7 separate regions of the Homo sapiens genome follow, and regions 1, 2, 3, 4, 5 and 6 are each linked to region 7. Evidence: promoter capture Hi-C in 16 types of primary human blood cells and fetal thymus (Javierre and others, 2016). All regions are on one chromosome and are shown on one strand. The core of a region is centred on a gene start or on the middle of the fragment in contact, and the rest is flanking DNA. Distances in the headings are between cores, read along the strand shown.

Region 1 (3,567 bases), core at 224-2,723, 890 kb before region 7:
CAAAAAATTAGCCAGGTGTGGTGGCGGGCGCCTGTAGTCCCAGCTACTATCGGGAGGCTGAGGCAGGAGAATGGCGTGAACCTGGGAGGCGGAGCTTGCAGTGAGCCGAGATCATGACACTGCACTCCAGCCTGGGCGACAGAGCGAGAGAGACTCCCTCTCAAAAAAAAAAAAAAAAAAAAAAAAAAAAAAATGGTATCCTGAACTGAATCCTGGAACTCAGAAAACAGCAGTGGGAAAACAAGGTATTCAAATAAAATTTTAGCTTAGTTTAATAGTATGTACCAATGTTAATTTCTTGGTTTTTCATGGTATAGACCATGGTTATGTAAGATGTTAACATCGGAGAAAACTATGGGAAGGGTACACAAGAACTCCCAGCACCTGTCTCTACAACTTTTATGTAAGAGAAAAATGGCTGGGCGCAGTGGCTCACACCTATAATTCGAGCACTTTGGGAGCCCAAGATCGGCGGATCACCTGAGGTTGGGAGTTCGATACCAGCCTGACTAACATGGAGAAACCCCATCTCTACTAAAAATACAAAATTAGTCAGGCGAGGTGGCGCATGCCTGTAATCCCAGCTACTCAGGAGTCTGAGGCGGGACAATCACTTAAACCTGGTAGGCGGAGGTTGTGGTGAGCCAAGATCGTGCTATTGCACTCCAGCCTGGGCAACAAGAGGGAGACTCCATCTCCAAAAAAAAAAAAGAAAAATGATTTCAAAATAAAAGGTGTTTTTTTAAAATTGATTTGCAATGGTCTGATATTTTCTCATGATTACACAGAATTTGTGGCTTTTGAAGAAGAATACAGATATAATTTGAGAGGAATTATAATTACATATTTTGGGAAGAATCTGAAACTTGAAAAATAAACAATAGCCTTAAGTGTCTAAGTCCCCAGCACTTTGGAAAGATGCGGTGAGAAGATCCCTTGAGCCCAGGGATTCAAGACCACCCTGGACAACAACAAAAAAATTAGCCAGGCATGGCAGTGCATACCCATATTCCCAGCTACTTGGGAAGCTGAGCTCGGAGCACCACTTGAGCCTGGGAGGTTGAGGCTGCAGTGAGCAGTGATTCCCTTTCAAGGAGAAGTGAGAGCAATCTTTTAGACTATTCCTTCTAACTTTGTAGCTGGCTAAACACTACACTTGACCAAACTCCTCCCACTTTTATAAACAGAATAAAAATCAGGTTACAGTAAAAGTATTCAAATCAGATAAAAGGCGATCTTGATTTCAGCAGCCAGTCGTTGGGAGAATAAACCCCCCTCCCTCAATGGTACTTTAGGTAGGCCTGGCAGAAGCCCAGCCTTACTTCATAGGTGATAGTGTTCAAGTTCTGTTGCCCAGAGCTGTGTTTATTCTTTCCACTTTCTTTACGCTGCTCTTTCAGATCAGTTAGTAAATGAAACACCCAGGAGAAGATACACAAAAGAAGTTTATGAATAAATTTGAGAAATATATCTATCTAAGGTCAGTGGTTTTGAAGGATAAACAGGAAACTGTAGTACTTCCTTTCACCCGCCCATTACGCAGCTTCCAATTCTTGGATTTGAGCAAATATGAGTCCCAGAGGCATATGACATTAAAAAAATGCTCTTTTATATAAGCCAAATAATCCAAATTCATTAATTTACCTAAAATATTTCAAATATGGCCAGGTGCGGTGCCTCATGCCTGTAATCCCAGCACTTTGGGAGGCTGAGGCGGGCGGATCATGAGGTCAGGAGATCAAGACCATCCTGGCTAAAATGGTGAAACCTCATCTCTACTAAAAATACAAAAAATTAGCCAGGCGTGGTGGCAGGCACCTGTAGTCCCAGCTACTCTTGAGGCTGAGGCAAGAGAATGGCGTGAACCTGGGAGGCAGAGGTTGCAGGTTGCTGAGATCACGCCACTGCACTCCAGCCTGGGCAACAGAGCAAGACTCCATCTCAAAAAAAAAAAAACAATTTCAAACATTTCCTATGAATATACACATCACTAATCTCCTCTGATCTCAAAAATATACTATTTGAAAGCAAATTTTCTTAAAACAAATATTTTGTTAAAAAAGAATTCTGCTTCTCTAGTATAAAAATCTAACATAGGCCAGGTGCAGTGGTGCACACCTTTAATCCCAGCACTTTGGGAGGCCAAGGCAGGCGGATCACGAGGTCAGGAGATCGACACCATCCTGGCTAACACGGTGAAACCCCATCTCTACTAAAAATACAAAAAAAATTAGCCGGGCGTGGTGGCGGGCGCCTGTAGTCCCAGCTACCCGGGAGGCTGAGGCAGAAGAATGGCATGAGCCCGGGAGGTGGAGCTTGCAGTGAGGCGAGATCATGCCACTGCACTCCAGCCTGGGCGACAGAGTGAGACTCAATCTCAAAAAAAAAAAAAAAAAAAAAATCTAACATAATAATTTCTTTCTGGAAAAGAAAAATTTTGAAGCAAGTGATAAGACAGAGTTTACCAAAAAAAGGGGAGGAAAAAATGCTATGGATTTTTAGAAGCAAACTTTCCCCACAAGGATAAAACATGCATGCATTAGAGTGCTGGAGGCAGGGGGGAATCTCAGTCTCATTCCTGTTTTAGAGATTCTACCACAGAAGTGAAGAAAATGCAGGCTCACACACCATCACTAAATACAATGCGACCCCTCTCATCTGCTGTTCCTTTCAGAAATAGTGGCATGAGATCAATGAATGCAATGTTTCCCCAATGGATAAAACACCCAAACGCCTAGCAAAGTCCAAACTGGACAAGGAGGCTCCTAAAAGCCAAAGGCTTGGCCAAAAACCATTCAACCATTTCCTTCCTGTTCTAAGCTGCAACCACTTGAGACTGAGCCTTTAGAGAGGAAAGAATATGGCCAACTCTGTTTATTCTACTACCTTCTTTTCTTTTGGGGGGATGTGGAAGGGAGGCGGTTTCTTTCTTTTTGCTGTCTTCCACTCTGGGAGCTTTTTTTAGGGGACAGGGTCCCAAAGGCTGTCTCCCAGGCTAGAGTACAGTGGTCATCACTGTAACCTCAAACTCCTGGGCTGAAGCAAACCTCCCCTCTGCCTTCCAAGTAGCTAGGACCATAGTAGGTGTTTGCTACCATGCCCAGCTAATTTATTTTTTTAAGAGCTGGGGGTCTTGCTAGGTTTCCCAGGCTGATCTCTAACTCATAGCCTCAAGCAGTCTTCTCTCCTTGGCCTTCCAAAGTGCTGAGATTACAGGCATGAGCCACAGCACTTAAGCTACTACCTTCTAGACCTCCTCTGAGTCTTCCTGAGTTTAGACTCTAGCACATGGAAAATTCACAGTCAAGGTATAAATGGTTCTTTCTACACCTGGAGTGAGCCTATCAGATGGTTTTGCTAGTGCCAAATAGGAGGCAAAAATGCTGGAATATCTTCCGTCTTACCAATCTTTTTCCTTCTTTTCCTTTCCCTGGGAACCCCACCCTAGGCCCCAAAAATTATAAATTTGTTAATTTCTACTATTCAGAAAGGTGAGTCAACTAAACTCACTTTCAAAATAACAATGTTAATACCCAAAAGACTATTTGAAGATTAAAATAACAATGT
Region 2 (3,333 bases), core at 739-3,238, 850 kb before region 7:
ACATGTCCTCTAACCCCTAACCCTAACCCTTTGCAGCTTCTGTTTCTTTTCTTTTCTTTTTCTTTTTTTTTTTTTTTGAGATGGAGTTTCACTCTTGCTGCCCAGGCTAGAGTGCAATGGCACGATTTCGGCTCACCGCAACCTCCGCCTCCCGATTCAAGCGATCTCCTGCCTCAGCCTCCCGAGTAGCTAGGATTACAGGCATGCACCACTATGCCCAGCTAATTTTGTACTTTTAGTAGAGATGGGCTTTCTCTATGTTGGTCAGGCTGGTCTCAAACTCCCGACCTCAGGTGATCTGCCTGCCTCGGCCTCCCAAAGTGTTGAGATTACAGGTGTGAGCCACGGATCCCAGCCAGCTTCTCTTTCTTTATCTATAAATAGAACTGTCGTGAAGATGCAATGAGATGAATTTTAGCTCAGAGCCTGCCACCTGGTGACTTACCCATGTTAGGTATTGTGGTTACAGCTCTGCTGTCAAACCACTTCTCCAACTCTCTTTCTAGCCTCAGTTCATTTGTCAAAGGGTTTGGCCCCAGTATTTTGCTGGATATTCAGAAGTACGACCTCACGTCTGCAGAATGCCACTGACTTTCACACGAGGCCTCCCAGGAAGGGATGCCAGGCCTCAGACACTAGCTGTTGGATCTCGGGACTTGCCACTCCACTTTGGCATTTTTCAGGACCACACGGCATACAGTTGATCTAACAGTCTTTCCTGTCCTCCCAGTGGTCAGCTGCAGCCCAGTTCTAGGGCTTCTGTGGGAGAAGACAGGAGAGGGCTGGGAGTCAGGGCACACAGATGTGTCAGATGAGGCTTTGCTTGCAAGGAGCTCACCACTTGGGTGGTGGAGAAGGCCCAGAAGGCACTACTACAGTGCTCCCAAATCAGGAAAAGATTGCTAAATGCCCGTATACTCAGGATCACATGGGAGCCCAGAGTTGGATGCCTGGATCAGCTGGGAGTCTACCTGACATTGATGATGTTTGGCTAGAATACTGATGGACAAGGCCAGGCGCGGTGGCTCACGCCTGTAATCCCAGCACTTTCAGAGGCCAAGGCGGGTGGATCACGAGGTCAGGAGATTGAGACCATCCTGGCTAACACGATGAAACCCCATCTCTACTGAAAATACAAAAAATTAGCTGGGCGTGGTGGTGGGCGCCTGTAGTCCCAGCTACTCAGGAGGCTGAGGCAGGAGAATGGCGTGAACCCAGGAGGTGGAGCTTGCATTGAGCCGAGATTGTGCCACTGCACTCCAGCCTGGGGGACAGAGCGAGACTCCGTCTCAAAAAAAAAAAAAATACTGATGGACGAATGGGAGGTGGCAAGACCGACACTGAGGGAAGGGCATCCCAGGCACAGGGAAGAGCATTTAGGAAGGCTTGAAACAGTCAGGTGCATTCTGGGAACTCCAAGTAATTCCACTCTTGAGTTGAGTGAGGGCTAAACACCTTCAAATCACAAAACATTCCAGCCACTGGTCTCTTCTTCTCCCTCCATTCCATCCTCAATACTATAGCTAGATTTATCTTCCTTCCTTCCTTTCTTTCTTTTTTAACATGGGGTTTCAGCCGGGCGCAGTGGCTCACCCCTGTATCCCAGCACTTTGGGAGGCTGAGGCGGGCAGATCACCTGAGGTCAGGAGTTCAAGAACAGCCTGGCCAACATGGAGAGACCCCATCTCTACTAAAAATATAAAATTAGCCAGGCGTGGTGGTGCATGCCTGTAACCCCAGCTACTTGGAAGGCTGAGGCAGGAGAATCGCTTGAACCTGGGAGGCAGAGGTTGCAGTGAGCTGGGACCGTGCCATTGCACTCTAGCCTGGGCAATAAGAGCGAAACTCCATCTCAAAAAAATAAATAAAAATAAAATAAAATAAAATAAATTTGGCTCCTCTGATTTTAAAATCGATCGGGGTTTCCTATGACCTATAGGACCAAGAACAAACTCCCTCTCTTGACATTGAAGACTCTTCACAGCCTTCTCCCAAACTCCTTCCACCTCTCCTCCCTACCTTTTGTTATAGTTACAGCCACTTGGATGATTTCCTGTTCTTAAAGCAGGCCAGTCACATTTTTTGTCCAGACTTCTCCCTCTGCCTGGAATGTTCTCCCCTTCTTCCCTGGGCAAATTCCCCCCATCTTCCAAGACCCAATGCAGAAGACAGGTTCATTAGAAGCCCCTTCAGGGTACTTCCAGTGCCTAGAATCCAGCCTGACATTTTGGTTGAATAATTAATTAATCAGATCAAGGACCTCTTCCCTGAGTACCCAACATAGCCCCCCTCCCCAACGCCTGTGCTCCCTGCACACCTCCTCCATGCTATGTTGGAACTTCTTGAAGTCAGGCTTCATTTCTTTTGTTTCGTTTCTTTCTTTGTTTTCTCTTCTCTTTTTCTTTTTCTTTCTTTCTTTCTTTTTTTTTTTTTTTTTTCGAGACAAGAGTCTCACTGTCGCCCAGGCTGCAGTGCAGTGGTGCCGTCTCAGCTCACTGCAGCCTCCACCTCCCTGGTTCAAGTGATTCTCCTGCCTCAGCTGTCGGAGTAGCTGGGACTACAGGCACCCACCACCACACCCGGCTAATAGAGACAAGGTTTCACCATGTCAGCCAGGCTCATCTCGAATTCCTGACCTCAGGTGATCCGCCCGCCTCAGCCTCTCAAAGTGCTGGGATTAAAGGCGTAAGCCACTGTGCCCGGCTGCGTTTCTTTTTTCTTTTCTTTTCTTTCTTTCTTTCTTTCTTTCTTTTTTTTTTTTTTTTTTTTTTTGAGACAGAATCTTGCTCTGTCACCCAGGCTGGAGTGCAATGGCACCATCTCAGCTCACTGCAATCTCCGCCTCCCGGGTTCAAGAGATTCTCCTGCCTCAGCCTCCGGAGTCGCTGGGATTGCAGGCACCCGCCACCGTGCCCGGCTAATTTTTGTATTCTTAGTAGAGACGGGGTTTCACCACCTTGGCCAGGCTGGTCTCAAACTCCTGACCTCGTGATCCACCCGCCTCGGCCTTCCAAAGTGCTGGGATTACAGGCGTGAGCCACCGCGCCCGGCCTCCGGCCGCGTTTCTTTTCTTTTTTAGAGGAGTCAGGCTGGAGTGCCGTGGCACAATAGCTCACTGCAGCTTCGAACTCCTGGGCTCAAGTGCTCCTCCCGCCTCAGCCTCCTGAGTAGCTAGGACTGCAGGCGTGCACCACCACGCCCGGCTTTTTTTTTATTATTATTAATTTTTTTGTAGAGACGGGATCTTGTTGTATTGCCCAGGCTGGTCTCCAACTCGTAGCCTCAAGCGATCCTCCCACCTCGGCCTCCCAAAGTGCTGGGATTACAGCTGTG
Region 3 (3,542 bases), core at 923-3,422, 810 kb before region 7:
CGGGATTACAGAAGTGAGCCACCGTGCCTGGCCAGGACTGCTATGTTTTCAGTGTTTTTTATGTGCAAAGTACTATATGTGTCTATCTGTTGTCTTTTGCTGTGTAAGGAGACATCCCAGGTTGTAAAACAACTGTCACAATTATTACCTCTGATAATTCAGGGGGTTGAATTAGCTAGGAGGTCTTGCTTATGGTTCCTCATATGTTTACAGTACTGGCTGAAATCCTGTCTCAAAAGGAAGTGAGTCATGAAGACCAGACCATGTTTTTATTTTTATTTTTTATTTTATTATTATTATTTTTTGAGATGGAGTCTTGCTGTGTCACCCAGGTTGGAGTGCAGTGGCCCGATCTCTGCTCACTGCAAGCTCCACCTCCCGGGTTCACGCCATTCTCCTGCCTCAGCCTCCCAAGCAGTTGGGACTACAGGTGCCCACCACCACACAGGGCTAATTTTTGGTATTTTTAGTAGACACGGGGTTTCACTGTGTTAGCCAGGATGGTCTCTGTCTCCTGACCTCGTGATCCTTTCACCTTGGCTTCCCAAAGTGCTGGGATTAGAGGCATATGCCACCAAACCCGGCCTTCATTTTTATTTTTATTGTTCGAGATGGAGTCTTGCTCTGTCACCCAGGCTGGAGTGCAGTGGTTTGATCCTGGTCACAGCAACCTCCGCCTCCTGGGTTCAAGCAACTCTCCCTCAGCCTCCCAAGCAGCTGGGATTACAGGCATGCACCACCATGTGGGATCATTTCAAAAGCTTCCTCAGTCACACGTCTTGTATTTAGACTGGGAAGACTCGAATGGCTGAGGGCTGGGACAGACAGGACATCTCACAGTATAACTGTGTGATCTCTCCATGTAATCCCTCCAGCATGGTGGTGTGGAGGCAGCTGGGCTTCTTATAGGCTGGCTTCATGCTCCAAAGGCCCATAGCCCCAGAGAGAGCCAGGTGGGAGCTGCATTACCTTTTCTGACGCAGCCTCAGCAGTCATGCAGTCTCTTTGACCACATTCTACCTCTTAGAAGTGAGTCAGGGCCAGACGTGGTGGCTCATGCCTATAATCCCAGCACTTTGGGAGGCTGAGGTGGGCAGATCACCTGAGTGAGGTCAGGAGTTCAAGAGCAGCCTGGCTAACATGGTGAAACCTCATCTCTACTAAAAATACAAAAATTAGCTGGGTGTGGTGGCACATGCCTGCAATCCTAGCTACTCGGGAGGCTGAGGTAGGAGAATCGCTTGAACCCGGGAGGCAGAGGCTGCAGTGAGCCAAGATCGCGCCATTGCACTCCAGCCTGGAAAACAGAGGGAGGCTCTGTCTCAAAAAAAAAAAACAGAATTAGAAGAAGTAAGTTGGCCAGGCACAGTAACTCTCACATATAATCCCAGCACTTTGGGAGGCTGAAATCGGAGAATCATTTGAGCCTAGGAGTTCGAAACCAGCCTGGGCAATGGTGGTGAAACTCCATCTTTACAAAAAAATACAAAAATCTACCGAGAGCAGTGACTCACACCTGTAATCCCAGCACTTTGGAAGGCCGAGGTGGGCGGGTCGCCTGAGGTCAGGAGTTTGAGACCAGCCTGGCCAACATGGTGAAACATCATCTCTACAAAAAAATACAAAAATTAGCTGGGCGTGGTGGCAGGCACCTGTAATTCCAGCTACTTGGGACCCTGAGACAGGAGAATTGCTTGAACCCAGGAGGCAGAGGTTGCAGGGAGCTCAGACCGCGCCATTGCCCTCCAGCCTGGGCAACAGGAGTGCTACTCCATCTCAAAAAAAAAAAAAAAAAAAATCAGCTGGGTGTGGTGGTGAGCACCTATGGTCCCAGCTACTCAGGAGGCTAAGGTGGGAGGATCGCCAGAGCCCAGGAGGTCAAGGCTGCAGTGAGCCGTGATTGCGCCACTGCACTCCAGCCTGGGATACACAGTGAGATCCTGTCTCAAAAGAAAAGGAAGTAAGTCAGGAAGGCTAGACCATGTTCAAGGTGGGGAGGAGTTAGACTCCACTCCATGAGGGGTGTCAGAGAATTTGCAGACATGGGCTGGGCATGGTGGCTCACACCTGTAATCCCAGCACTTTGTGAGGCCAAGGCAGGCAGATCACAAGGTCAGGAGTTCGTGACCCGCCTGAACAACACAGTGAAACCCCCATCTCTACTAAAAATACAAAAATTAGCTGGGCAGGGTGGCAGGCACCTGAAATCCCAGATATTCAGGAGGCTGAGGCAGGAAAATTGCTTGAAACTGGGAGGCGGAAGTTGTGATGAGCCAAGATCATGCCACTGCACTCTTGCACTCCAGCCTGGGTGACAGAGCGAGACTCTGTCTCAAAAATAAAATAAAGAAATAAAGTAATAATAATAATAAGTGTGTAGCTCCTCCCCTCGTCTCTTGGTCCTGCTCCCCTTCACCTTTGTCATGAGTAGAAGATCCCTGAGTCCTCCCCAGAAGAAGATGCTGCCTTTCTTCCTCTAGAGCCTGTGGAACTGTAAGCTGATTAAACCACCTTTTTTTTTTTTTTTTTTTTTTTTTTTTGAGACAGTCTTGCTCTGTCGCCCAGGCTGGAGTACAGTGGCAGAATCTCGGCTCACTGCAAGCTCCACCTCCTGGGTTCACACCTTTCTCCTGCCTCAGCCTCCCAAGTAGCTGGGACTACAGGCACCCACCACCACGCCTGGCTAATTTTTTGTATTTTTTAGTAGAGACAGGTTTTCACTGACAGGATGGTCTTGATCTCCTGACCTCGTGATCCTCCCACCTTGGCCTCCAAAAGTGCTGGGATTATAGGCGTGAGCCGCCACGCCCAGCCAAACCACCTTTCTTTATAAATTATCTAGTCTCAGGTATTTCTTTTTTCTTTTTTAGTCTCAGGTATTCCTTTTTTTTTTTTTTTAAGACAGAGTCTTGCTGTGTTGCCCAGGCTGGAGTGCAGTGGTGCAATCTCAGCTCACTGCAAACTCTGCCTCCTGGGTGAAGAGATTCTCCTGCCTCAGCCTCCCCAGTAGCTGGGATTACAGGTGTGCGCCACCACGCCCAGCTAATTTTTTTTGTATTTTTTAGTAGAGACGGGGTTTCACCATGTTGGCCAGGCTGGTCTTAAACGCCTGACCTCATGATCTGCCTGCCTCAGCCTCCCAAAGTGCTGGGATTACAGACATGAGCCACCATGCCCGGCCTTCAGGTATTTCTTTATAGAAGTGTGAGAATGGAGTAATACAGAAGTCCTAAATCAGTCTCACTGGGTTAAAATCAAGGTGTTGGTAGGGCTGCAGTCCTTTTTTTTTGAGTCAGAGTCTCGCTCTGTTGCCCAGCCTGGAGTGCACGATCTTGGCTCACTGCAACCTACCCCTCCTGGGTTCAAGCAATTCTCCTACCTCAGCCTCCCAAGTTGCTGGGATTACAGGCGCCTGCCACCACACCCAGCTAATTTTTTAAATTTTTAGTAGAGACAGTGTTTCACCATGTTGGCTAGGCTGATCTCAAACTCCTGACCTCAAGTAATCCGCCTGCCTTGGGCTCCCAAAGTGATGGGATTAC
Region 4 (3,798 bases), core at 314-2,813, 790 kb before region 7:
AGGCAGAGGGTGTTCTTTGGATTCTTGCATTACACTATTGACTTGTTTAGTGGGGTAGTAACTTGGAATGGCCAAGGACAAATTTCCCACGACGTGGAATATTCTGAATGACAGAGAAGGGGCCATTATTTGGAAATAAAGTTGTAACAGTGCACCTGCGATGGATCCATTGGCCCTGAAGAGAAAAAACATTCATATTTTTTCTCGAGTCAAGTATTCCAGGAAGGGATGTTTTAATGCCTCATATTTTGGAGAGCACAGGGAGTTATAACTCAATTTCAAGCAAAGATAGGAGGAAGCCAGTGGGCAGATTTCCTGATTAAGCAGGCAAAGATGACATGTGGTTTGATTTGTCATTTTCAATTTTAAATGAACTCTGTCACATGCACTAATTATGCATTGTCCTTCCTGTGTTAGATTCCTTTCAAATATGATACTCTTTGTGACTTCAGTGTGTTTGTGGTCATTTGGGCAAAGCAGCACTTTTGTGAAATCGTAGCTTGAATCACTGGTAGCATTTGGTAAGCTTCACAGAGCTGATTTGATTATAGTGCTGACATCACTGTGCTGATGACCTAAGGCCGAGGTCTATCTCTTTGTGAACCACTGTTAGTTTTGCTTTATTTATTGACTCGGAAGTCACCTATCTGGCCCATGCTTTTGAAGTCTTGGGTCATCATTTGGATCATCTCGCCACACTCCTGGTTTAAGAACATACAGAGGTCTCTGTTGCACATTACAAATCAAGTGCAGACCCCTCTACCTGATTTTTAAGGATTCTGCATGACCAGTTTCCATTCATCCAGTTCAGTCTCATTTCCCACAGTTCCATAGTTACCTTCCACTTTATTTAGACTTCTTACTGTGTGACCTTGAGCAAGTTACTTAATTTCTGAGTCTTGTGCTTTATCTCTGCAGAGTAGGAATCATACGAATAGCTCCTACATCACAGGGTTTTCAGTGAGAATTAACTGGGATAATATCTTTTACAAATAATAGCCTTCCATTATGGAGATGTTAATACAAGTACCAAGAACTATTCTAAACTTTTAAAATTTGTTGTCTCATTTTATCATAACAGTTTGATGAGGTAGGAGTTGCTGGTGGTAGTGGTAGTTGCCCAGATAGTAGTAGTGATAATGTTGGTGCTTATTGAGCACTTACTATGTTCCAAGTACTTTACATGTTTCCAGTGAACCCTGTGAACAGTCTTACAAGGTTGATACTATAGTTGCCGTTTCATAGATAGGAAATGTAAGCATAATGAGATTAAGTAACTTGCCTAGATTCACATGGCCAAAGAATTCAGGAGCTGGATTTAGAATCCAGGCCATACTTTTAGATACTAGTTTCATCCCATTTTTATTTTAGAAGGAAAACTTAAGGAGTAATTAACTTAACTAAAATTCTCACAGCACATAAGTGGCAGAGCTAGAACATGAACCCAAATCTGATTTCAAAACTATGTTCTTTGTCATACTCCACTGCCTCCAGACTGCTGAAAACAATGCTTTCTGATATGCTATTGTAGAGTGGATCGATTGTGATTTAATATATGTCACATCGTTGTGTTTCTTCACTCAGGAAAGATGGCATATTGCCTGGATTAACTGTTACACAGGGAACCAGGCTTTTGGCCACTGCTTGCCACCCTGACTGTACCTGTTGAGTTGACGTAGGTGGTGAACACCCTGGGAGCATGGCAGATATTTGGCAGGATACTTGCCCATGGCTGGAATTCCCAGTGGTGACATTGGTGTTAAGTGGGCCATTTCTGTTGATTCAGCAGGAGGACGTGGCAGCCCAAGATGTCAATAGCTGATGGGAGGCAGATAGTAATGGGGAGAGGACATGGCTGTGGGATGGGACAGCACTTTGTTCCCAAGTCTACTCTGAAATTGCCCACAGCTAGCTAAACCATGTTGGACTTAGGACATTTCTCAGTTTCAATTTTAGGTTGTAGTCCCTAAATTCAAAAAGTGGACTACTGTATCTTGACAGGAATTCTTTTACAGAATTTGATACCCAGAAAGGGGTGTGAGCCCAGACTGATGATAGCTTACTTTTCTTTTTCAGGAAGGATGCCAATTCTGCGCTTCTCAGTAACTACGAGGTAAATTGGATTGTTACATTTTCCTCTCTGATAGTTTGCCCTTCGCTCCTGAGATTGTTAAATTGATTTTGGTTAGAAATGACTGAATTCAGGCTGGGTGCAGTGGTTCACGCCTGTAATCCCAGCACTTTGGGAGGCTGAGGCTGGATCACTTGAGGTCAGGAGTTCAAAACTAGCCTGGCCAACATGGTGAAACCCAGTCTCTACTAAAAAATACAAAAATTAGCTGGGTGTGGTGGCACATGCCTGTAGTCCCAGCTACTTCGGATCCCAGCTGAGGCAGGAGGGTCACTTGAACCCAGGAGGCGGAGGTTGCAGTGAACTAAGATGTGCCACTGCACTCCAGCCTGGGCAATAGACCAAGGCTCTGTCTCAAAAAAAAAAAAAAGAAAGAAAGAAAGAAAAAGAAAAAAGAAATGACTGAATTTATTTGGATTTTCCACTTTAAAATAAGACATGGCAACATCTGGTGGACCTTGGAATAGTGTAAGCTTGACACGTTATACATAGTACTTCAGGAAAGCTGGGAAGACTCTATTTTAGAGGGGGCAACCTTCTCTAAATCTCAACGATTCCAAATCATCATTTGGGATGTAGTCATAGGATAGAAGCATCTATTTTAAGGCTGTTTCTGTCTGCAGAATTTCCCATTAAAATTTTTATGATTTTTCCTAATTATCACCTTTGATATATTTATATATTTATAATGCTTTTATACATTGCAAATAGTCTTATGGGTATTAACATCCTTATTTTGAAAGTGAGTTTAAGCCGAGCACAGTGGCTCATGCCCATAATCCCAGCACTTTGGAAGGCCAAGGCCAGCGGATCACGAGGTCAGGAGATTGAGACCATCCTGGCCAACATGGTGAAACCCCATCCCTACTTAAAAAATAAAAAAAGAGAGTGAGTTTAGTTGACTCACCTTTCTGAATAGTAGAAATTAAGAAATGTAGAATTTTTTGGGCTTAGGGTGGGATTGCTGGAGAAAGGAAAAGAAGGAAAAAGGTTGGTAAGAGAGGAGATATTCCAGCATTTTTGCCTCCTATTTGGCACTAGCAAAACCATCTGATAGGCTCACTCCAGGTGTAGAAAGAACCATTTATACCTTGACTGTGAATTTTCCATGTGCTAGAGTCTAAACTCAGAAAGACTCAGGAGGTCTAGAAGGTAGTAGGTTAAGTGCAGTGTCTCACGCCTGTAATCTCAGCACTTGGGAAGGCCAAGGAGAGAAGATTGCTTGAGGCTATGAGTTAGAGCTCAGCCTGGGAAACCTAGCAAGACCCCCAGCTCTTAAAAAAATAAATTAGCGGCCGGGCGCGGTGTCTCACGCCTGTAATCCCAGTACTTTGGGAGGCCGAGGCGGGCGGATCACGAGGTCAGGAGATCAAGAACATCCTGGCTAACACGGTGAAACCCCGTCTCTACTAAAAATACAAAAAATTAGCCGGGCAAGGTGGCGGGCGCCTGTAATCCCAGCTGCTCGGGAGGCTCAGGCAGGAGAATGGCGTGAACCCGGGGGGTGGAGCCTGCAGTGAGCCAAGATTGTGCCACTGCACTCCAGCCTGGGCGACAGCGAGACTCCGTCTCAAAAAAAATAAAAATAAATAAATTAGCTGGACATGGTAGCAAACACCTACTATGGTCCTAGCTACTTGGAAGGCAGAGGGGAGGTTCGCTTGAGC
Region 5 (3,420 bases), core at 53-2,552, 870 kb before region 7:
GGAGGTTGCAGTGACCCGAGACTGTGCTTCTGCACTCCAGCCTGGGTGACAGAGCAACACTATGTCTCAAAACAAAACAAAAACAAAACAAAACAAAAACCCTTTATATTTTAGTCTAGTATAATTTCTGTAGCACAGGGATTAAGAAAACAAGTCCTGGCCAGGTGGGTGGCTCACACGTGTAATCCCAGCACTGTGGGAGGCCAGGGCGGGCAGGTCACCTGAGGTCAGGAGTTCAAGACCAGCCTGGCCAACATGGTGACATCCCGTGTCTACCAAAAATACAAACATTAGCTGGGCGTGGGGGTAGGAGTCTGTAATCCCAGCTACACAGGAAGCTGAGGTACGAAAATTCCTTGAACCTGGGAAACAGAGGCTGCAGTGAGTTGAGATCACACCACTGCACTCCAGCCTGGGTGACAGAGCGAAACTCTGTCTCCAAAAAAAGAAAAAAAAAGAAAAGAAAAAAGAAATAAATAAACAAAAAGAAATTGACACTTTCGGTCATAAAGCTTGAAACTTACATTTTATTTTACCTGAGTTCCTTCCTCAGGAAAGGATCCCCAGGCCTCTCAAAGTTTATCAAAGAACTGAAACTCACCAGGTCATGGCATCCTGACAATGAGACTCCGGACCCCTCATTCATCATGATTGCTTCCTTACCCCTCCTGAGTTCCTGTATTCCCACACATAGTTGCATTTCTTCCCTGCTGTATAAACCCCTAATTTTAGTAGTCAGGGAGATGGATTTGAGACTGATCTCCCATCTCCTCAGCTGCAGCACCCAATTAAAATCTTCCTTGGCAATAATCACTGTCTCAATGATTGGCTTTCTGTGCGGCCAACAGCTGGAGCTAGGCTGAACTCTACTGCTTTGGTAACACTAAAAGAATGAAATGTGATCATACACACACAGTGGTTCTAAAACATGTCTGCTAATTTCTTTTTTTTGAGACGGAGTCTCTCTCTGTCACCCAGGCTGGAGTGCAGTGGTGTGATCTTGGCTCGCCACAACCTCCACCTCTTGGGGTTGAAGCGATTCTCCTGCCTCAGTCTCCCGACTGGCTGGGATTACAGGCGCCCACCACCAAGCCCAGCTAATTTTTGTATTTTTAGTAGAGACAGGGGTTTCACCATGTTGCTCAGGCTGGTCTCAAACTCCTGACCTTGTGATCCGCCCACCTTGGCCTCCTAAAGTGCTGGGATTACAGGCGTGAGCCATCGCGCCCAGCCCATGTCTGCAAATTCTCTGACACCCCTCATGGAGTGGAGTCTAATTCCTCCTCACCTTGAACATGGTCTGGCTTTCGTGACTCACTTCCTTTTCTTTTGAGACAGTATCTCACTCTGTTTCCCAGGCTGGAGTTCAGTGGTGCAATCACAGCTCACTGCAGCCTCAACCTCCTGGGCTCTGGTGATCCTCCCACCTTAGCCTCCTGAGTAGCTGGGACCATAGGTGCTCACCACCACACCCAGCTGATTTTTATTTTATTTATTTATTTATTTATTTATTTGTTTATTTATTTATTGTTTTTTGAGACAGAGTAATGCTCTTGTTGTCCAGGCTGGAGGGCAATGGCGCGGTCTGAGCTCCCTGCAACCTCTGCCTTTCGGGTTCAAGAAATTCTCCTGTCTCAGGGTCCCAAGTAGCTGGAATAACAGGTGCCTACGACTACTCCCAGCTAATTTTTGTATTTTTTAGTAGAGATGATGTTTCACCATGTTGGCCAGACTGGTCTTGAACTCCTGACCTCAGGCAACCTGCCCACCTCCGCCTTCTAAAGTGCTGGGATTACAGGTGTGAGCCACCACATCCAGCCCTGACTCACTTCTAAGGAGTAGAATGCAGTGGAAGAGACCTGCATGACGGCTGAGGCTGCATCAGAAAAGTTGATGCAGCTCCCACGTGGCTCTCTCTGGGAATATGGGCCGTTGAAGCACAGAGCCAGGCTATAAGAAGCCCAGCTGCCTCCAAGCCACCATGCTGGAGGGATTGCATAAAGAGACCACACGGTTATACTGTGAGATGTCCTCTGTTCCAGCCCTCAGCCATTCGAGTCTTCCCTGCCTAAATACAAGACATGTGACTGATGAAGCTTTTGAAATGACTCCACATGGTGGTGCGCGCCTGTAATCCCAGCTACTCGGGGGGCTAAGGCAGAATTGCTTGAACCCAGGAGGCAGAAGTTGTAGTGAGCCATGATCAAGCCACTGCACTCCAGCCTGGGCAACAGAGCAAGACTCCATCTTGAAAAATAAAAATGAAAATGAAATGACCCCAGCCTCAGCCAGTACTGTAACCATAGGAGGAACCCTAGGCAAGACCTCATCCTATGTAATTCAACACCCTGAATTATCAGAGGTAATAATTCTGACAGTTGTTGTTTAACAATCTGGAATGTCTCCTTACACAGCAAAAGACAACAGATAGACACATATAGTACTTTGCACATAAAAAACATTGAAAACATAGCAGTCCTGGCCAGGCACGGTGGCTCACTTCTGTAATCCCGGCACTTTGGGAGGGCGAGGCGGTGGGATCACCTGAGGTCAGGAGTTCGAGACCAGCCTAGCCACCATGGTGAAGCCCCGTCTCTACTAAAAATAAAAAAATTAGCCAGGTGTAGTGGTGTACACTGGTGTAATCCCAGCTACTCAGGAGGCTGAGGGTAGAGAATTGCTTGAACCTGGGAGATGGAGGTTTCAATAAGCCAAGATTGTGCCACTGCACTCCAGCCTGGGCAACAGACTGAGACTCCATCTCGAAAACAAAAACATAGCAGTCCTAACTGTTATTATTTCAAACCAGTTTTATCTTGACCCACTAGGACCTTATGTATTAATCATAGCAACTATTATTTATTGAACACTTAGTATAAAACAGACATAGCACATATGCGCACACATTGTTATACTGCTCTTTGATTTATTGTGCTTCACAGAAACTGCATTTTTTACAAATTGAAGGTTTGTGGCAACCCTGTGTTGAGTAAGTCTGTCAGTGGCATTTTTCCAACAGCACGTGCTCACATCATACCTCTGTGTCACAGTTCGGTAATTCTTACAATATTTCAAGCTTTTTCATTATTACTATGTCTGCTGTGGTGATCTGTGACCAGTGGTCTTTGATGTTACTACTACAGTTGTTTTGGGCATCATACACTGTGCCCATTTAAGATGGTGAATTTAATCAACCAATGTGCGTGTTCTAACTGCCTCTCTGACCAACTGTGCCTCCGTCTCACACCCTCTTGCCCTCTTGAATCTCCCTATTTTCTGAGACAGAACAATATTGAAATTAGGTCAATACCTAATGGCCTCTGAGTGTTAAAGTGAAAGGAAGGGGCCTACGTATCTCACTTAATGTCAAAAGCTGGAAATGATTAAACATAGTGAGAAAGACATGTAGAAAACTGAGAT
Region 6 (3,285 bases), core at 395-2,894, 720 kb before region 7:
TTAACCAGGATGGTCTCGATCTCCTGACCTTGTGATCCGCCCACCTCGGCCTCTCAAACTGCTGGGATTACAGGCGTGAGCCACTGCACCCGGCCACACACAAAAACTTCTACACAAATGTTCATAGCAGCATCATGTATAATAGCCAAAAAAGTAGAAACAGATGTCCATCAATGGATTAATGGATAAATAAAAGATGATGTCCAGCCAGGCACGGTGGCCCATGCCTGTAATCCCAGCACTTTGGGAGGCCAAGGCAGGCAGATCACTTGAGGCCAGGAGTTCAAGATCAGCCTGGGCAACTTGATGAAACCCCGTCTCTACTAAAAATATAAAAATTAGCCAGGCATGGTGGCACATGCATGTAATTCTAGCTACTTTGGAGGCGGAGGCATGAGAATCACTTGAGCCCAGGAGGTGGAGGTTGCAGTGAGCCAAGATCACATAACTCCACTCCAGCCTGGGAGACAGAGTGAGACTCTTCAAAAAAAAAAAAGGTGATGTCTGTATAATGGACTATTATTCGGCCGTAACAAGGAATGAAGTGCCGATACATGCTACAACATGGATGAACTTTGAAAATATTATACTGTGTGCAAAGGAAGGTAGTTACCTTCCCGGGTTCAAGCAATTCTCCTGCCACAGCCTCCCCAGTAGCTGGGACGACAGGCGTCCGCCACCATGCCCGGCTAATTTTTGTATTTTTAGCAGGGACGGGGTTTCACTATGTTGGCCAGGCTGGTCTCGAACTCCTGACCTCAGGTGATTCACCAGCTTTGGCTTCCCAAAGTGCTGTGATTAGAGGCATGAGCCACCCCACCTGGCCTAGCAGAGAGCAATTTTGAATACAGCTGTTAGATTCTGCACTCATGCCTTCTCTAATCCATGTCACTGGAGTAGAAATAATTGCTTTGACAGAACCTGGTGTAGATGTGTCTGTAGGAAGAAACTGTAAAATGAATGGATCATTTTGTGAAATATCTGCCCTTTCCCCACCTTTCTTTTGCTTCTTTGCCTTTTTCTCCCTAGTTTTCATTTCTTTCTTTTAGGGCGTCAGCCCCCCACCTCTGTGGTTGGGAGGGACTATTGCACGTCTACACTCTCGTGGGGATGAAATAGTGTTTGAGTTCGTTATTTGCATTTGCGCGTTATCTCCCCGAGGAGATGACAGCTTCTCTGCCAGCAGCGGGCAAAGGTGGGCTCTGAAGCAGAGGAGAGGAATTATCAGGAAAAGCTCATTTTCTTCTCCTGTCCTAGGGTTTCACTGATGAAGGCCTCTGGGACACCCACGTTGGGGGTGGGGGCGGTGAGGACCGCCACCTGCCCGCGGCTCCCCTGCAGCCAGGCCACGCGCGCTGTTGCTAGGGCAACCACCCGGCCAGGCCTGCGGCTGCCGGGAAGCCCCCTCGGGAGCGCGCACGGGAAGGGCTGTGGGGGCGCTGGCCGGCTGCGACGTCAGACCCCCGCCCCTCGGCGCCTGCCGGACCCAGCTCCATTCCCAGCCGCGCCTCCTTCGGTGGGCAGCCGGCCGGAACTCACGAATCAGAGCAGCCGACACATCGTCCGCTCAGCCAATCGTAGCAGATGTGTGATCCCGCCACCTCCCCGGACCCTGGCGGTTGTCGCTGAGTTGGCGACCGCGGGAGACGCTGCTGAGGCGGCTTCGGTTGCGGGTCGGAACGGCGCTGCTCTGCGGGGCCGGTCCAGGCTGGCAGCTGCCGGCGCTTGGCGGTGAGGGCGGGCTCCCGAGTGGCCCCCCACCGAAGGCGGTGGGACCAGCGGCTGAGGCCAGGATGCCGTCCAGGCGGCGCGGCGGCTCCTCACTCATCCCAGGTAAGGGGGACGCGGCGCTCGCTGCGGCTCCGCTCCCCTCTCGTCTCCTCACACCCGGCCCTGTGCCCCGTCCTGGCATCCCTTGGCCCCTTGTCGCCTTCTGCTCGGTGCCTCCCGGTTGTCCAACCCCGCCCCCGAGCGCGGAGCCCCGGGTCTGGCCCGTCCGGCCCCTGCTCCCACGCCCCTTCCCCCATCGCCGGCATTTCCCGGGCTCGGCTTCGCCCCGGCCGCCGGGGCCTCTCCCCTCTGCCCTTTCTCTCCCTTCTCGCAGCCCTGGGACCACGTCCTAGCCCCGCAGTCCCCTGGGATGAGACCCTCGTCTCGCCGGGATCGGACATTTGCCCCCACGTCTACCCCGGCTGCGCTTCTTGAGCTCATCGCCCCATCATCCTACCCGTTGTACGTAGTCCTGTCTGCATGGCAGTCGCCCGCCCCGCTCCAGGTGTCCCTGGGTCTTGCCCTTTTGCTCCTAAGCACCTTCCTTTCCCAACTCGCCTCTTCTCCCCTCACTTTGACCACCCACCATCGCAATCTCCTCTTCCTTCTCTTACTCTTAAACCTCCAGACACTTTCCCACTCTCTGCAATGCCGGATTCATCGCTTTTTTTTTTTTTTTTTTTGAGAGATGGAGTCTCTATGTTGCCCAGGCTGGCTTCGAACTCCTGACCTCAAGCTATCCTTCTGCCTCGGCCTCCAAAGTGCTGGGATTACAGGCGTGAGCCACTGCGCCTGGCTCAGATCCATAGTGTAATATCTTCATTCGTCCTTACATGAGCTGCACCCCATAACATGTAAAGTCCCTTGCCCAGAGTCTAGCACACAGTAGGCCTGGCACATGGTGGGTGGTCACGCATGTTAGCCTCTTCCTCCTTCCAGGCGTTTTGTACTTTCCAGATGATGGTAGCAAGAAGTCCAGTGTCCACAGGGATTTGACTCTGCCTGAAGAATGGTATGGGAGATGGCAGGAGAAATTGGTGAACTCCAGTAAAGCGATTAAATGGTCAATTACTGCATTCATTAAGAAGAAACAATTCTGCTATCCGTGCCATGTATTGTTTTATGTTAATTGCCTTTGTAAAGGATTCTTAGGCTGCTAGTCAGCAGGCTTTGCGGTGTAATTACTCCCCATCCCCTCTCCATCCCCATCTGCAGTGTTTGGGTAACTTTCTTTTTAGGAAAGAAAGAGCCCCTACCTCCCAGCTAAAGTGGCATAGTATATAAGCAATGTGGTACGTGTTTATCTATTAGCTGGATAGTCCAGGGAGCTGCAATGAATTTTCATCTTTTAAGATCCAGGAGGAATCAGGATTTGGATTTCCTGGAATCAGCTGCTGTACAGACCAAATATGCTTAAGAATGAAACTTCTGACAAGTCCTCTAAGAGTGAGAGAGGAATTATCCACCCCTCTCCCTCCCCCTCTCCAAACACTCGCTCTTGGAGGAAATAGCGAG
Region 7 (3,327 bases), core at 360-2,859:
ATTGTGTTGAACATTACAGGCTTCACCTGATAAACTTTTGTTAAAGATGGCTGGGTGTGGTGGCTCATGCCTGTAATCCCAGCACTTTGGGAGGTGGAAGTGAGCGGATCACTTGAGCCCAGGAGTTTGAGACCAGCCTGAGCAATTTGGGGGAAACCCCATTTCTGTGAAAAATATGAAAATTAGCTGGGCACGATGGTGCACATCTGTGGTCCCAGCTACTCAGGAGGCTGAGACAGGAGGATCACTTCAGCTTGGGAGGCCGAGTCTGCAGTGAGCCATGATCATGCGACTGCACTCCAGCTTGGGTGACAGAGCAAGACCTTGTCTCAAAAGCAAGAACAACAAAACTTTATTACCTTTAAAGCACCCTGTACTCCTCCCCCATCCCATTCCCCTAACACTTAACATGAAGTTTATACATCTTTTTCTCATGCTTCATGTCAGTTCAAACAATTATGTATGCATCTCTAAACAATATGTTATGAACTTGCCTGTTTTGAATTTTACATAATGGAAATATGTAGCAGTGTACCATTTTGTGATTTGGTCCCTGCCAATATAGTCTGCAATTGACTACCATAATTGTGTGAGCTGTATTAAATAATTTTCACTGGTCTTTTGTACCCGATTAAACACGAAGATGGGCCAGGCGTGGCAGCTCACACCTGTAATCCCAGATCCTCCCGAGGTGGGAGGATCACTTGGGTCCAGTAGTTCGAGACCAGCTTGAGTAACATAGGGAGACCCTGTCTCTACAAAAACAAACCAAACCATGAATATATCAAAGTTGGTTTTTACATTTGACTGTATGGACATCTGCTTTTTCTCCCCAATTTTTAGTGAGTCATACTGCTGCTAAAAACATTGGTGTTGCTATGAGCATTATTTTGTCTACTTGTGCATAGGTGCAACTGTTTCTCCAGGGTAATATATTCTCAAGAGAGGATGTGTATATCTTTAAGTGTACTGCATAATGCCAAATTACTTTGCAAAGTGATTGTACAAAATTATACTTTAAAAATTTTCATTTTCATTTTATTTTATTTATAAATAGAGTCAGAGACTCCCTATGTTACCCAGGCTGGTCTGGAACTCCAGGACTCAAGCGATCCTCCTGCCTTGGCCTCCCAAAGTGCTGAGATTACAGGCCTGAGCCACCGCGCCTGGTCCAAAATTACATGTTTATCAGCAGTGATTAATATACAAGCACATCAACAGACACACGCATAGCACACACATGAGCATGCACACGTGTGCGCACTCCCTACACATCTACGCATGCACACACCCATACCATCACACACCACACACGCGCACACAGATGCACATACATGCACTCACTGCACACACCGTTGTACACGATGCACACTACAAGCCACATACACGCACTACGCACACACGCACACGCACAACACCAGACCGGCACACAGACCCATAAACGTCCATCACGCACTCCACGCACGTCCGCATGCACGCTACCCGTCCCGGAAGCGTGGTCTCCGCCGCCTGCCTCTGACGAAGCTTGTCCCGGCCGCGCCACCGTCGGACGCCCGGGGTCGGAGGTCACGGCGGCGTTGGAGGTGGCGTGGTTTTTTTTTTTTTTTTCACCCGGAAACCGCGGTTGCCGGAGCCCGAACTGAGGCGGCGGCGGGAGCCCGGTTGGCGTCTGGTCTTCGCGTCGGCCCCGCGGAGCCAGACGCTGCCCCCGGCGCGGGGAGAAGATGGTGCCTAGCGGCCTCGGGCCCGCCACGCGCCGCCACGAGTGAGCCCAGCGCGACCGCGGGCGTCCGCCGAGCAGCTGGCCCGGCTGGGCCCGGGGCGCGCAGCTGCCCGCCGGGGCGGGGTGAGCCGGGGCTGGAGGGCGGGCTGGGGTCGGGCCCAGTCGGGGCTGCCCGCGGGGCCGGGAGCGGGGAGCGTGCTGGTCGGGAGCGGCTCCTCCGCCGGCTTTTTTCACCGCTTCTCAGGGTGCAGACCCCGCCCCAACTGCTGGCGGGGGTCGCCCAGCATCGGCCGACCTCGGCCTGGTCCCCCCACACTGGGGTTTGCCCACTCGCGTCCCCCGAGCCAGGGTTCCCTGCCGGCCTTGGAGATGGCGGGACTTCCCACGTCTGGAGCCGAGGCCTGGATAATTCGGATTTGGCACGGGAAACATCTTGGTCGTTTGCCATTTTTCGGCTTTGGGGAGTGTTTGCGTTTCTTCTCCGTTTGGCAGTGAAACACATCTCAGAAAGGTGGGAGGGAGAGACTCACGTACGTCCACAAAGTTAAATGGCATAGTGGTGTTCCCTGTGTCAAGCTTGGTAAATATCCGGAATGGGGTGGATTCTTTCTTCATGTTTTTAATAAAATGAGGAGTGATCGCAAGGTAATCTAGAGGCATGTAGTTTCAGTTCCCTTGATGGGGACCATCAGAAATAAAACCAGGCTTGTTGTGCTGTTTTGAGTCGTTTGAACGCCGTACCCATCGGACAGCTGGTGAGGAGGCCTTTGTGGAAGAATCTGATGTCTGAGTTTAGTTCTCAACTAGCAGGTGACAGCCCTCACTGGCTGATGAATGGTGAGCTTCTCTGAAGCCTGCTTTGTAAAGATTGTGGCTTCCGCCTGAACTGCTTCTTTCCTGCCTCAAAGGTGAGCCGCTACGGGAGGGAATGGGAAGAAAAACTCCGAGACTGCTGATGAATATGTGATAAAGTGGTTTGTCTCGATAGCACCATCAGCTTGGGTCAGCTTAGGGTCTCAGCATGTGTATCTCATTTGTAGATGAGTGTTCCATCAGCGCTTGACCGATAAGGGTGTCCATCTACTTCCTCTTTTCATCTAGGGATTCTGACAGGAAATAGACCTGTCGCGCACCTAAGGTATACTTAGGTGTGCATTGACCCTAAGTGCATTTACTCTCTAGGATTAAGGATTTGGAGTTTCAACTTGTAGTGAAGATTCTGGGAGAATTCCTGTGGCCTGAATCAGGTGGACTGGAATCACTGCTAGCACCGGAGTCTCAATGCTAAAATCACCAAAGGCTAGTTAACTGGCACCTTCTCCGTTTAGGCTCTAGCTGCATCTGTGGCAAGGAGGAAAGGTAGATTATATATATATATGTTTTTGAGACAGAGTCTCACTCTTGTCGCCCAGGCTGGAGTGCAGTGGTGCGATCTCTGCTCACTGCAACCTCTGCCTCCCAGGTCCAAGCAATCCTCCTGCCTCAGCCTCCCTAGTAGCTGGGATTACAGGTGCCCGCCACCATGCCCAGCTAATTTTTGTATTTTTAGTAGAGACAAGGTTTCACCATGTTGGCCAGGCTGGTCTTGAACTCCTGACCTCAGG

What was found. Contacts are between HindIII fragments. The CHiCAGO score rates a contact against its expected background, and 5 or more counts as called.
Region 1: a fragment that was not itself captured here is called in contact with the fragment with the promoter of TMEM248 in region 7 in 5 of 17 cell types (fetal thymus, naive CD4 T cells, megakaryocytes and 2 more); the score reaches 8.4 in fetal thymus.
Region 2: a contact is called between a fragment that was not itself captured here and the fragment with the promoter of TMEM248 in region 7, in 4 of 17 cell types (total B cells, monocytes, total CD8 T cells and 1 more). The highest score is 7.9, in total B cells.
Region 3: a fragment that was not itself captured here is called in contact with the fragment with the promoter of TMEM248 in region 7 in 1 of 17 cell types (total CD4 T cells); the score reaches 5.3 in total CD4 T cells.
Region 4: a contact is called between a fragment that was not itself captured here and the fragment with the promoter of TMEM248 in region 7, in 1 of 17 cell types (total CD8 T cells). The highest score is 5.7, in total CD8 T cells.
Region 5: a fragment that was not itself captured here is called in contact with the fragment with the promoter of TMEM248 in region 7 in 1 of 17 cell types (M0 macrophages); the score reaches 5.3 in M0 macrophages.
Region 6: a contact is called between the fragment with the promoter of TPST1 here and the fragment with the promoter of TMEM248 in region 7, in 13 of 17 cell types (total B cells, fetal thymus, naive CD4 T cells and 10 more). The highest score is 17.9, in total B cells.

The regions. Positions count from the first base shown.
Region 1 is chr7:66,027,237-66,030,803 of GRCh38, forward strand. The region is part of intron 3 of LOC105375336 (a long non-coding RNA gene); the gene reads right to left. It also overlaps the pseudogene LOC100419772. Among named protein-coding and RNA genes, the nearest start is that of ASL, 47 kb to the right of the region's middle. The HindIII fragment of the contact is 4,637 bases long and covers 1-3,567 here.
Region 2 is chr7:66,071,980-66,075,312 of GRCh38, forward strand. No RefSeq gene overlaps it. Among named protein-coding and RNA genes, the nearest start is that of ASL, 2.2 kb to the right of the region's middle. The HindIII fragment of the contact is 4,170 bases long and covers 1-3,333 here.
Region 3 is chr7:66,106,669-66,110,210 of GRCh38, forward strand. No RefSeq gene overlaps it. Among named protein-coding and RNA genes, the nearest start is that of CRCP, 6.4 kb to the right of the region's middle. The HindIII fragment of the contact is 2,827 bases long and covers 760-3,542 here.
Region 4 is chr7:66,125,628-66,129,425 of GRCh38, forward strand. It overlaps CRCP (CGRP receptor component), which reads left to right. Exons shown (of 6, transcript NM_014478.5): 2 at 2,077-2,113. Among named protein-coding and RNA genes, the nearest start is that of CRCP, 13 kb to the left of the region's middle. The HindIII fragment of the contact is 2,078 bases long and covers 525-2,602 here.
Region 5 is chr7:66,052,416-66,055,835 of GRCh38, forward strand. No RefSeq gene overlaps it. Among named protein-coding and RNA genes, the nearest start is that of ASL, 22 kb to the right of the region's middle. RefSeq lists an enhancer at 3,126-3,215. The HindIII fragment of the contact is 1,584 bases long and covers 511-2,094 here.
Region 6 is chr7:66,203,690-66,206,974 of GRCh38, forward strand. TPST1 (tyrosylprotein sulfotransferase 1) reads left to right here and starts at 1,645. Exons shown (of 6, transcript NM_003596.4): 1 at 1,645-1,833. RefSeq lists silencers at 1,268-1,537, 1,688-2,047. The HindIII fragment of the contact is 8,515 bases long and covers 1-3,285 here.
Region 7 is chr7:66,919,616-66,922,942 of GRCh38, forward strand. TMEM248 (transmembrane protein 248) reads left to right here and starts at 1,610. Exons shown (of 7, transcript NM_017994.5): 1 at 1,610-1,846. RefSeq lists a silencer at 1,652-1,901. The HindIII fragment of the contact is 775 bases long and covers 1,523-2,297 here.